Regions from separate parts of the Homo sapiens genome. Here all the other regions are linked to region 2. The links are contacts of gene promoters, found by promoter capture Hi-C in blood cells and fetal thymus (Javierre and others, 2016). All regions are on one chromosome and are shown on one strand. Each heading gives the region's core, a stretch centred on a gene start or on the middle of the fragment in contact. The rest is flanking DNA. Distances are from core to core; before and after follow the strand shown. Region 1 overlaps LGSN (lengsin, lens protein with glutamine synthetase domain). Region 2 holds the start of SCAT8 (S-phase cancer associated transcript 8). Region 3 has its middle 150 kb from the start of FKBP1C.

Region 1 (4,688 bases), core at 2,124-4,623, 530 kb before region 2:
TTGGTGTATTTACAATCCCTGAGCTAGACACAAAGGTTCTCCACCTCCCTACCAGATTAGCTAGATACAGAGTGTCCACACAAAGGTTCTCCAAGTCCCCACCAGAGTAACTAGATCCAGAGTGTCGATTGGTGTATTCACAAACCCTGAGCTAGACACAGGGTGCTGATTGCTGTGTTTACAAACCTTGAGCTAGATACAAAGTGCCGATTCGTGTATTTACAATCCCTTAGCTAGATATAAAGGTTCTCCACGTCCCCACCAGACTCAGGAGCCCAGCTGGTTTCACCCAGCGGATCCCGCACCAGGGGCTGCAGGTGGAGCTGCCTGCCAGTCCTGTGCCACCAGCGGGCACTCCTCAGCCCTTGGGTGGTCCATGGGACTGGGCGCCTTGGAGCAGGGGGCGGCCCTCGTCTGGGAGGCTGGGGCCGCACAGGAGCCCACGGAGTAGGGGGAGGCTCGGGCATGGTGGGCTGCAGATCCGGAGCCCTGCCCCGAGGCAAGGCAGCTAAGGCCAGGCAAGAAATTGAGCACAGCAACTGCTGGCCCAGGTGCTAAGCCCCTCACTACCCCGGCCGATCGGTCGCTCCGAGTGCAGGGTCCTCCGAGCCCACTCCCACCCAGAACTCGCGCTGGCCCTCAAGCACCGCGCGCAGCCCGGGTTCCCGCCCGCGCCTCTCCCTCCACACCTCCCAGCAAGCTGAGGGAGCCGGCTCCGGCCTTGGCCAGCCCGGAAAGGGACTCCCACAGTGCAGCGGCGGGCTGAAGGGCTCCTCAAGTGCCGCCAAAGTGGGAGCCCAGGCAGAGGAGGCGCCGAGAGCAAGCGAGGGCTGTGAGGACTGCCAGCACGCTGTCACCTCTCAATGGCAGCAAGAGAAATTGGGAAGGTGAGGTTCTGACTTCTACTTTCTGAGACAAGAGCCCAAAGAAGAGGGATTCCACAAATCTAAGAGAGCTATTGAAAGGTTCCACATGGCTAAAAAGCATGACAACTTCACCTTGCTCTTTTTTGTTTTTGTTTTTATTGTTGTTGTTCTTTTGATCCCCATCAAGCTAATCAAATGGTGTTTACTCAGGAGTTTCTAGAAGCAGAAAACCTGAAGAAGTTCTAATGGCAGAAATTGCAGGATCAATAAAAAAACACAAACTGTTGGACTTCTCCACTGTCTCTATTCCTCCCTCTCTCTGGGTAGGTGAATTTGTGTGTTTTATACTGGACAAGCATAGTATTGTACTATGCTAATAACATATGCATTGATTGATTAAACATTAATTGAATTCCAGAACATATGCAAGGAACAAGAAGTATTAATGCAAATGTAAGTAAGATCTGTACCTTTTATTCTGAGAATTCACATCCTAATTAGCAATTAGGAAGTATCATGTAAACCCCTAATTATAGGCAGCATGAGAAGAGCTTTAACAGGGAAGGCACTGTGCACATAGGTAATGTTTAAAGACACAAATTCTTACCCCTGTCATAGAAAACCCAAGGTTAAAGGTATTGTCCAGTCATACCTATATCATAAACATATTGGTGAGTGTATTTTGTCAAACAGGTGACTGGAGATATGTCAATAGACTGTTCTGTTTTACTGATAAGCTCAGACTTCACTGTATGCTTTCAATTTTTATTCAGATTAAAGTTTTTTGATCTTTCATTGCCTTCAAATAATCATTTCAAGCGTTGTTGTTATTCACACACTGTAAAATGAAATTTTAGATTATAGAATGTCCTTGAAAATAGAAACTTGTTACTACAATACTAATGTTTTAATTTCTAGTCTTAAAATATTATCGCTTTTAATTTACATTTCTTATGTATACTCATTTAATTACCAACTTTAAATTCAGTAATCACATTTTTCCCCTAAGCTTTGATTAGAACAATTATAGTAAATGAAAATAAGAAAGCAATTTTTGTAAAGCTATTTATAAGGCACCCTTTTCGAGCCATAAAGAAGCTTTCCAAATAGCTTTTTTCAGCATTAGGTCTACAAAAAAAATTATTTATGTTCTGCTTAAGATACACAGATCCAAAACTCTTTCATTGTCTGCTCATCTTTGTTTTGGTCTCCCCTAGTATGATGGCTCCCAGCTGAAGGCTTAGCACACAAATGGTGCTCAATAAGTGCTGCTGAATGAATGTCTGACCCTCTTAACCCAGACCAAGAAGGTAGAAGCATCAGCAGAAAGTCCTTTCAACAATAGAAAGCCTATGAACAGATGAAAGAAATAGAAAAATAGATAACTGATTTTTACATGTACCTACCCCAATTTGTCTTTGGCCCTGAACTCTGCTGGCCAATGCCTCTTTTTGGGTTGCCTTAAAGAACAAGAATATACATCAGCACACACCTAACTGAAATCTTGGTGGAAACTGCCACACCAACTTACGTTATCAACTGATTTGTAATCTATGGCTGAATATTTTCTTTGACTCACGACTGTACACTTAATACTGAAGATAATATTCCTAGTTATATAATTCCTTCACATGGCATCCTGAGTACTGTGTTTTTAAGTTATGCTAATAATGCGAAAGGGGAAAAAACGGCTTCAAACACTGTGATTATCAGACTTTTTACAGCATCTTTACTCATTATGGTAAAATGAAGTCAATGCATTAGACATGTTTCATTAAGGCCCGTGGACTATAAAGGGATATGCCACTTTATAGGGATGGGTTAGAGCCAATCCCATTTTTTGGATGTGTGGATCCCTTTGATTAACTCAGATTATCCTCTCTAGAAGTGGGAATATTGAGGAAGTCGTCTTTCACTGGTTCTTATACCTTTGTTCTTTCATCCCCAAATCCCTCAAATTCCCCACTCATATGCACACACTCACACACAAACACACATACAACACACACATGGAAAAGAGAAAATAAATTTCATTGCAACTAACAAAGAATCAAAATCATTGTGGCTTAAAGAAGATAGAAGTTTGGTTCTCTCTCAGGTAAACATCTGGATGTAGGCAAGTCAAACTGCTCTACAAAGCAGAGATTCCACCTTATTACTGTACCCTGTGGAGCAAACCTCCCTTCCCAAGGACATAATCCTAGCCACATTATCTGTAGGCCACTCAGCAGGAAGGGTGAAGGCAGCAAGAGAAAGAAAGGGCAGAGCACACAGCATCCGTCATTTAAAAAAATGTTCTAAAGTGTGGTAGGGCATGGTGGCTCATGCCTGTAATCCTAGCACTTTGGGAGGCCAAGGCAGGCTGATCACCTGAGTTCAGGAGTTCAAGACCAGACTGGCCAATATGGTGAAACCCCATCTCTACTAAAAGGCCAGGCATGGTAGCAGGCACCTGGGATCCCAGCTACTTGGGAGGCTGAGGCAGGAGAATTACTTGAACCCAGGGGGCAGAGGTTGCAGTGAGCCAAGACCCCCCCACATTGCACTTCAGCCTGGGTGACAAAGCGAGACTCCATCTCGGAAAAAAAAAAAAAATACAAGAAAAGAAAAGAAAATGTCCTAAAGAACTTATATGCAACACTTCTACTTTCACCTCTTTGCACTGAACCTAATAACATGACCACATCCAACCTTAATGAAGGCTCAGAAATATCATTTCATTTTTCATTGCTTTCAAAGAACATATTGAGGTTTTATTACTGAGAACAGAGGGGAAAATGAACAGAGGGGAATTTTCTAGCAGACAGCTAGAAAATTGGCATGAGAGTCTTCCTTATCCCTCCCATGATGTAATGTGTGGGATTTCATTCTGGAGGTTTCAGGACAGGTTCCCTTCCTTCCCCCAGCTACCCTACACTATCTTTCTCTCTACCCCATATGCATCCATGAATTTTATTCTTCTCTTTTTTTTAAGACAGTGTCTCACTCTGTCACCCAAGCTGGAGTGCAGTGGTGTGATTATGGCTCACTGCAGCCTGAAACTCCCAGGCTCAAGCGATCCTCCCTTCTCAGCCTCCCACGTAGCTGGGACTACAGGCATGTGCCACCATGCGAGGCATTTTTTTTTTTTTTTTTGTAGAAACAGGGGTCTCACTATGTGGTCCAGGCTGGACTCAAACTCCTGGCCTCAAGCAATCCTCCTGCCTTGGCCTCCCAAAGTGCTGGGAACTTTCTTCTTATGTATCCAAACACACTTCTCCTGCTCAAAGGAAAAAAGAAGGGAGTAATTAGTGAAGGATAGACTGACTTTCACTATTTAAGCTACTGAGTAATATGAATTTTAATAAGAGGATCTGAGCCAAATTCTAATCCTCTGCTTGTGCAATTGCTATCTAAATTGAGACTACAGTCAGTTTTAATTGAACATAAAATCTGCTGTTTGATCCTAAGCAGTAGAATAATGTTTCATTTGCTAGTAAGTGGATTTTGGACTTCTTCCCAAAAGCAGCTAAACTTTTGTGATAGTTACAATATTATCTCATTCAAACAAAGGCCTGGAACAGGTAATATTCTCTGGGGAGGTACCAACCTCTGTGAGCAGCAGATTCAGTAATTTGAATAACAAACTTAAACTCCAAACATAGCCCTGGCTAGCCAGGCAGTTGTTCTCACACTCCACAGAGCACTAGAGGTTTCAGAGGAACATCTAGTTTCAAAGAATGAAGCAGAGTAGACAGAGCCCACCTACCCTCACACACAAACATCTTTCTATCTATACTTTGTGTATTGAACTTCTATATGAGGCATTGTTAAAAGAAAGGC
Region 2 (4,241 bases), core at 426-2,925:
TGTTGATCTCACAGATGAAAACACTGAACTCAGAGAAGTTAGGTGATTAATTGCTTAACTGTTGATTGCAGACTTAAAAGTAAAACATAGGTAATTTTCCTTGACTTAGCACATGCATAACTAGTTTCTACTTAAGAGAGACAAATGTAAGTTATAAGTTGATTTCCCACCAATTCCAGGGCACTAGAGTACTTTGTTACAGGCTGAGTACTTTCTTAATTTCTTGCTCCTTTAATTTAGAATGGTTTTCTTTGAGGGCAACAACCATTTCCATTTTATAACACATGGAAAAATGAGAATTTCCCTTCTCTCTTCAGACATGGAAACAGAAAGAAACAGAGGAAAGGACAAATCAATAAACTTACTTCCCATGTGACTTGGTCACCTTCCCTGTCCTCATGTTTGCCTGTAGGAATTTTTTCTTTTGATTATGAAAGGTAGCTGATATGGTTAGGTTTTGTGTTCCCACGCAAACCTCATCTTGAATTGTAATCCCCATAATCCCCAGGTGTCAAGGGAGAGACCAGGTGGAGGTAATTAAATCATGGGGGTGGTTTTCCTCATGCGTTCTCGTGATAGTGAGTGAGTTCTCAGGAGATCTGATGGTTTTATAAGGAGAAATTCTCCCCTTTACTAGGCACGTCTTCCTGCTGCCTTGTGAAGAAAGTACTCTGCTTCCTCTTCCCCTTCCACCATGCTTGTAAATTTCCGGAGGCCTCCCCAGCCATGCTGAACAGTGAGTCAATTAAACTTCTTTCCTTTGTAAATTACCCAGTCTCTGGCAGTTCTTTACAGCAGCATGAAAACTGACTAATACAGTAGCCCTGATGCAAAGTAGAGCTTCAGAAAGGATCAGGGAACTGCTAAGTACTTTGGACTACAGCGAACATGCTCAAGGCAGAAAACAGGAGGAGGCTGCATCTAGGCAAAGGTCTTTTTTTTACCACAGCCAATTAGAGTGTCCCTGAGGAATCTCTAAAGTATTCTTAAAGGAGCGAGGCAAGTCCTAGAGGGTTCAGTTAATCTTACCATGGCCTTTCTGTCCAGTAAAAAATATCAAGTTATTTTGCAGTGCTGAGTGGTTGTTTGCCAGCTGAAACTTCAGGTGGAATTCATAATGGAAGCTGATGTCTGAGATCCGTGAATAAGCCAGGAATGAGGTGTATCCAAAGGCATCTGTGCCACTGAACCTTGGCTGAGTAATATTAATAGCTGTGAAAAAACCCAAACCAAACAGTTAAAATAAACCTGTACATGTATTTGTAAAGTGAGGGTTACGTTTTGCTGATGCATCTGGCCAGATAGTCTGTTTACTATTACATTAATTATACTTTAGTGCCCTTCAGCATTGAGCAACTAAGTGACTCAACAGGAAATTTCAAAACCAGAACAAAGGAAATGCAGTGTTTTGAGATCTTCTATATAATCCTTTCACTAGCATACTCTTTCTACATAATGGATAATTTACTTAAAAAGCAAACCCCTATATTTTGAAACTTAATTTTAGAAATAGAAAAGATTACTGGCAGCCAAACAAAGTATTTACTCAGGTGCCTCGTAAACATGATTTGGCATCCAAAACCTGGATATGACTTAGAGAGGAGCTCACACCTTTGAACAAACTGTGCTTTTCTAATCCTGCACCTTTATCTGAGCCAAAGCCCCAGGTCAGGGCTAGGAAAGTCAAGAAATAGGAAGGAAATCGGTCAGTTTTCTATCATCATTGGTGAGTGACCAGAGCTTTTCTTTAAGTAAAAATAATTGTCTAAAAGAAATGTTCATTATTTCTTTGCTGAGATGCTTCTTAAGTAATAAAAACATGGAATTCAATTGGTGTGAAAGTGTAGGGAGATTTATTAAAAACAGGAAATGGTAAAATTAGATGAAGTTCAAGGGCCAGTGTGAACAAAATAGAATTTAACTGAGGGTTGCTTCTTGTATCGAACTCTTCTCTTTCATTGTACTGTTTCCTTCATAAGTCTCCACTGGTTTTTTAAATCTCCTTACCCAAAGAGGACAACAGAAAATAGAAAGGGGATTTTGACACCCCATTCCTGTCTTTTATGGATGATGTCACCAGATTAAGGGATGTTCCTAGGATCTATTTTTATTGGTTGGGGACAGCTCGGTTGAGGAAATAAGAGCTTATGTTGTTTCCTTCTCAAGAGATGTTGGAACTCCAGGGAAGCTGTAAAATTAGAATTTTTACAAGCCTTAAGAAATATACTCACTCTGGTATGTAACACTTAAAAGAGCTTCTTATGTCTGTTTATAATTGTGTATACAGCAAATAATTTAGGAAAAATGATGCTTATTATCAAAGGCTTGTATATCTTTGTTTTATATGACTATTAAACTAAGATATTTGTGTGAATAAACTGAATACTTTGTTTTGATATTTTATTAAAATCTTATCAGTTTATTATGACTATTAAACTAAGATATTTGTGTGAAGCTGAATACTTTGTTTTGATATTTTATTAAAATCTTATCAGTTTATTCCCTGGGATGTGTGGCATAGGTTAAATGTAATTTTCTCAAAACTCACCAGAATGTGAAGTAGGGACTTTTGAGACATATTGCTTCTTATACTTATTTTTTAATCTAATGAAAACTTTATAATTTGTGTCCCTGAGATAATAACACTCTCAGGTATATCACTTTCAGTAGTACTATGGGGAGGGTGATTGAGGGAAATGAAATGTACTGGAGTTGAAACAGAATAAAAATACTGACCATCATTCAATGTTGGCATTAAAAACTATGAAAATAGAATTCAGTTAAATTTAATACTAAAATAGAAAAGGAATGACTATCTTTTGCTTTTAATATTTCTTCCTGTTAATAATTTACAACTGAGTCTACCTAAAGGTTACATTTAGGCTAGATTGACAAATACGTATCTCATATATATGGTATTTTACTGTCAGAACCTGTGCTAGATGCTGGTGACACAAAGATAAAAAAGCACTAGTCACTCAAGGGATTAGTGTGAAGTCAATACATTTATTCAGCTGAACTGGACTGAAAGTTGAGGCCTGGTATAAGAACTTTCAGGCAGAAGAAACAGCATGTTCTAGGGTGTGAAGACCAAAACAGCATGTCATACTCAGGGAACTTATGAAGTCTGCAAATTTTAGAATGAAGAAGAAAAGTGAGAGTGGAAGGAAATGAAACAAGATAGACAGTGGTCAAATCATGAAGAACTATATATTTTCTTTATTATCCTAAAGTAGTTGGGCAATGATCAAAGTTGCTTTTTAGAAATATTATTCTGTTGATGAAGTGTGAATCATAGATTAGACAGAGAGCTGGAGGACCAAACTTTGGTCAAGGATGAAAATAAGAACTTTGATATCAAGAAATCTAACAATGAATTAAGCTTATGCAGAAATCTAAATGTAAGGCAATTTATGAGTAACTCATTAAGGCAATGGTGTGATATTTAAACAGCTAATGGAAATACATTATCAGTGCAATTTCATGATATAATTTTTACTATCAAAAATAAGTACTTTTGAAGTTTGAGAATAATAATGAAGACTGATGATAACCATGACCCATAGGAATGGATCTGTCAAATGCTCAGCATTTCTTAGTCTAGTGGTACCTGCAGCTGTTGAGCATTTGAATTGTGGTTAGGCCTGTGTGGGAAGGGCTCAGTATGAAACAAAGAATGTAAAATATATTATTAATAACATTCCCATATCCGTTAAACATTGGGTTAAATAAAATATATTACTAAAATAAATTTCACCTGTTTCTTTTAACTTTGAAAAATGTCGCTACTAGAAAACAAAATGACATAGGCAGCTCACATTCTATTTCTATTGAATGGCAACGCAGAGAGATCCAAGCATGTTTTGATAGGTTAAGTTCTTCCTCTAAACCGTTAGTTGTGACTTACTTCAAGGGGCTTTTTCTTTTGGTAACTTTGAACCTATAAAAAGGTAGGGCCTCTGTGGGGAGCAATAGGAATCAGGAGAAGAGGTCAAAGATAATATAATCCATCACTAAGAGGCTTCTATGTCTGCACCCACACTGTCTCTATAACTCTGAATTAGGCAGAAGAACGTGAGGGACTCAGACTAGGAGAAAGAAGACTTTCAACCTTACAAATCATTCTTTTCAATACTTTAAGCCCTTTTCCATCTTCCGCCAGGTAACATTTGGTTAATTTGGTTACTCTACTGCATAAATTCCCAGATCAGCCTTCTGGAAGGATCAGTCATCATCTAATC
Region 3 (4,618 bases), core at 2,046-4,545, 740 kb before region 2:
TTGTCTGATTTTATTATTGTTGTTATTGTTCGACAGTTGCCCAAAATATAAAGTAATATTTTGTCATCCTGTGATATTTAAGAGTAAATTCTTGTTCAAGCTTACTAGAAGCAATATCTAATTAAATGGGCTGTGGTACACTACATATTGGAGAGATCAGTAAGAAACCTTGTCCTTTGTTGGGGCATCCTCAAAATAGTCATATCCGTAGATCTCATCAGTTTCATTAAGAAAGACTCATAGGCCAGGTGTGATGGCTCACATCTGTAATCCCACACTTTAGAAGGCTGAGGTAATATCACTTGAGGTCAGGAGTTTGAGATCAGCCTGGGCAACACAGTGAAACTCTGTCTCTACAAAAAATAAAACACAGCCAGTTGTGATGGTACATTCCTGTACTCCCAGCTACTTGAGGGACTGAGGCAGGAGTAACACACGAGCCCAGGAGTTTAAGGTTACAGTGAGCCGTGATGTGCCACTGTGTTCCAGTCTGGCAATAGAGTGAGACTTTGTCTCAATAATAATAAAAAAAAATTAATTCTCAATTGTTCCCTGGATTGAAAGTTGTGGTGCTGGGTTCATCATACTTAGAGCAAAGTAGGAGAAAATAACAAAGTGTCAATGTTTAATATATACATCTTTATTTAAATCATCTATTTTCAGTATAATACCCGAGGTCTCTGAAACACTCATTATTTTCAACCTCTGTCTTCTAGGCTTCACCTAGGAGAAATGCCATTCTGCAAACGCCTTCACCATTCATTCTCTCAGTTATCCAAGCTTCAGCAAAATATATCAGCATCATCAACTGCCTGTCTCCTTTGAATGCAAATAATTGCTTGTCAAATAATTCCTCAGAAATAATATGTCTGGTGATATGGTTTTGCTGAGTCCCCACCCAAATCTTGTCTTGAATTGTAGTACACATAATGCCAACATGTCACAGGAGGAACCAAGTGGGAGGTAACTGAGTCATAGGAGCAGTTACCCTCATCCTGGTGCTCTCATGATACTGAGTGAGTTCCCACGAGATCTGATGGTTTTATAAGGAGCTTTTACCCCTTTTGCTCAGCACTTCTCCTTCTTGCATCATATGAAGAAGGATGTGTTTGCTACCCCTTCCACCATGATTGAAAGTTTCCTGAGGACTCCCCAGCCATGCTGAGCTATGAGTCAATTAAACTTATTTATTTTATAAATTACCCAGTCTCAGATGTGTTTTTATTAGCAGCATGTGAGTGGACTTATACATAAATTGGTAGCAAGTAGTGGGGAGCTGCTGTAAAGATACCTGAAAATGTGAAAGTGATTTTGGAACTGGGTAACAAGCAGAGATTGAAACAGTTTGGAAGGCTCAGAAGAAGACAGGAAAATGTGAAAGTTTGGAACTTCCCAGAGATTTGCTTAATGGCTTTGACCAAAATGCTGATAGTGATATGAACAATAAAGTCCAGGCTGAGGTGGTCTCAGTTGGAACTTGTTGGGAACTGGACTAAATGTCACTCTTGTTATGCAGAGACTGGCAGCATTCTGCCCCTGCCCTAGAGATCTTTGGAACTTTGAACTTGAGAGAGATGATTTAGGGTATCTGGTGGAAGAAATTTCTAAATGACAAAGCATTCAAGAGGAAGCAGAGGACAAAAGTTTGGAAAATTTGCAGCCTGATGATGTGATAGAAAAGAAAAACCATTTTTCTGGAGAGAAATTCAAGCTGGCTGCAGAAATTTGCATAAATAAGGAGTCAAATGTTAATCACCAAGACAATGGGAAAAATGTCCCCAAGGCATGTCACAGACTTTCATGGCAGCCCCTCCCATTACAGGTCTGGAGGTCTAGGAGGAAAAAATGATTTTCTGGCGGGGTCAAGGACTCCCTGCTCTGTGCACCCTCAAGACTGCATCCCAGCTGCTCTAGCCATGGCTAAAAGGAGCCAACATATAGCTCAGACTATTGCTTCAGAAGTTAAAAGCCCCAAGCCTTGGTAGCTTCCATGTGGTGTTGGGCCTTTTGGTGCACAGAAGTCAAGAACTGAGGTGTGGGAACCTCCACCTAGATTTCAGAGGATGTATGGAAAGGCCTGAATGTCCAGGCAAAAGCTTACTGCAGGGGCAGAGCCCTCAAGGAGAATCTCCGCTATGCCCATGAAGAAGGGAAATGTGGGGCTGGAGCCCCCACAGAGTCCCCACTGCCTAATGGAGCTGTGAGAAGTGCCCTAATGGGGACTGCCTAATGGAGCTGTGAGAAGAGGGCCACCATCCTCTAGACCCTAGAATGGCAGATCCACCAACAGCTTGCAGTGTGCATCTGGAAAAGCCACAAGCACCCAATACCAACCAGCCCATTAAAGCAGCCATGAGGCGGGCTGTACCCCGCAAAGCCACAGTGGTGGAGCTGCTCAAGACCATGGGAGCCCACTTTTTGTATCAGTATGACCTGGATGTGAGACCTGGGGTCAAAGGAGATCATTTTGGAGCTTTAAGATTTGACTGCCCTGCTGGATTTCTAACTCACATGGGGCCTGTAGTCCCTTTGTTTTGGCCAATTTCTCCCACAAGGAATGGGGTGTATTTACCCAATGCCTGGACCCACACGTTTACCTATGTAACAAACCTGTATATTCTGCACATGTACCCCAGAACTTAAAATAAAAGTTGAAAAACAAAACAAAACAAAAAAACTTTGGAACCAGTCATACAGCCTCTCTGATAGCATCTCCATTAGCAATTCATGAAAAAGATTTCTAGGATCAGAAAGGAAACTCTCTTCTGCCTCTACCTTGGAAATGGTATTCTCAACACTATGTTAGAAGAAAATTAAACATGTAAATATCTTTGACATTTAAAAGTTTCTAAAAATGAATTAAATTATAAATGGCAATAACTTAGGTTTATGTGGCACTTTATGTTTTTCAACGTCCTTCTAACTATATTATGCCCCCGCCCTTGGTAGAGCAGTCATGAATACTTAAAGTGACTTGCCTAAAGGAGCACAGCTAACTAGCTATAACACTTATAACAAAGATGCAAGATTCACATTTGCTTTTCTTTTCTGTGAATTTGACCTTACTAAAGGAAGCCATTGCCACAAGTAGACAAATTCTATATTAGCTGTACTCACATGGGATTCCTGTTGTGGCTCTCACTGTCATTTTATGACACAGGCTCCCCCATAACAAGAACCATGGCATTTTCCAGGTCCCTCACCTGCCTTATGACACCCCCCAAAGTGTAGAGTGGGATATCCTCTCCATGATGATTCTGCTACTTTGCTGTAGCCTAACCAGAATTGTAATAGTCATCCAAAGGTTGGAAATTAAAGCCATAACCGCATGTACACACATATTATAAAGACTTTTTTTCTTCTTTGGCAACTATTACAAATGTGACCCAGGTAAAATGAAAAATTCTCAGGATTGCTATGAAATCATTTATTTTCCATGCCACACCAGAGTTTTAAAATATTAGAAAATTAAGATATATGAATCTCTCTTGCTCCAAGCTAATGCATTTGTCATATATTTCAAGGTGGTCCTGGCATGATGCCATATCTAAGTTTTTAGTTCAGAACTGTGACTAGCATGGCACTATCAAAGTGCACCAAGGTCTTTCCCTTGTATTTACTAGAAATAGCATTCTAGAAAATATCTCAAAACTCCCAAGGTAGGAAGAACACTAAAAAGAAATCTATTTTTTTTCATCTGGCACCTTCAAAATGAACTGAGCCTCACTTTTGGTCTACATTGAAGCATTTGGTCTAGATCCATCTTAGGTATATTCAAGATAGCTTTTCCGTATTAGAAAACTCAAATACAGTATTAGTTGATGTAGAAGTCAGAAAAATGTACGAACTACAATTCTTTTAAAGTTCTATTTTCGTCAAAGTTATGTTCAATAATTTTTCTATTTTATTTTTATTGTTTTGTTTTCAATACATAGACATAAACATAGTTCACTTATCTGGCACCAAGTTAGAACAATTTTTTAGAAAATTTGCCTTCCTTGTAAACAGATAAGAGTTGTAAGACCCACGCTATTGTAACTGAAAGCAGACCAATAATTTTAACAATAGAACAAAATGTTTATTTAGAACAAGAAATATTTAAGCAACTATGTGTTTAACAAAGTACTATTTAAAGGACATACTCATTAAGCACCATAAAAAGCTGATTTTGGGCATGTGCTTATATCAACTCATTTAATTCTCACAGTATTGAATTAGTTGGTCTACATGAGAATTTTCTGTTATGTGACCTCTCAGATGATCATTTGGGAATCCTGAATTCCCAGGTATTGGTAATGCATTTAATTGTGTAATGAAGTTTATCAAATGATGAGCATCGTATATGAACAAGATACTATGATAATAACAATAATTATCTTTATTCATTGAATTCTTTTAAAGTGACATTGTTCTTTCTACACATATACTTTTGTTTAATTATCTTAAAATCCTACTGAGTAGGTATTAGTATCCTCATTGAACTTACAAGAAAGCCAAGCTTCAAAAACAAGGTAATTTCCCCAAGTTCACAATTATAAAATGGTAAATGAATTCAGCCCCAAATCTTTTTTACACTAAAACTCATGTTCTCATTTCACCCTGCTGCCTCTAATTTTAG

The links. Contacts are between HindIII fragments. The CHiCAGO score rates a contact against its expected background, and 5 or more counts as called.
Region 1: a fragment that was not itself captured here is called in contact with the fragment with the promoter of SCAT8 in region 2 in 1 of 17 cell types (M1 macrophages); the score reaches 5.0 in M1 macrophages.
Region 3: a fragment that was not itself captured here is called in contact with the fragment with the promoter of SCAT8 in region 2 in 1 of 17 cell types (M2 macrophages); the score reaches 5.7 in M2 macrophages.

Annotation. Positions count from the first base shown.
Region 1 is chr6:63,274,631-63,279,318 of GRCh38, forward strand. LGSN (lengsin, lens protein with glutamine synthetase domain) reads right to left here. Exons shown (of 4, transcript NM_016571.3): 4 at 1,321-4,688. Among named protein-coding and RNA genes, the nearest start is that of LGSN, 43 kb to the right of the region's middle. The HindIII fragment of the contact is 2,822 bases long and covers 1,963-4,688 here.
Region 2 is chr6:63,805,161-63,809,401 of GRCh38, forward strand. It overlaps SCAT8 (S-phase cancer associated transcript 8), which reads left to right and starts at 1,676. Exons shown (of 2, transcript NR_157848.1): 1 at 1,676-1,726. EYS (eyes shut homolog) reads right to left here. Exons shown (of 43, transcript NM_001142800.2): 37 at 1,030-1,212. The HindIII fragment of the contact is 5,141 bases long and covers 1-3,380 here.
Region 3 is chr6:63,061,113-63,065,730 of GRCh38, forward strand. No RefSeq gene overlaps it. Among named protein-coding and RNA genes, the nearest start is that of FKBP1C, 150 kb to the right of the region's middle. The HindIII fragment of the contact is 2,402 bases long and covers 2,095-4,496 here.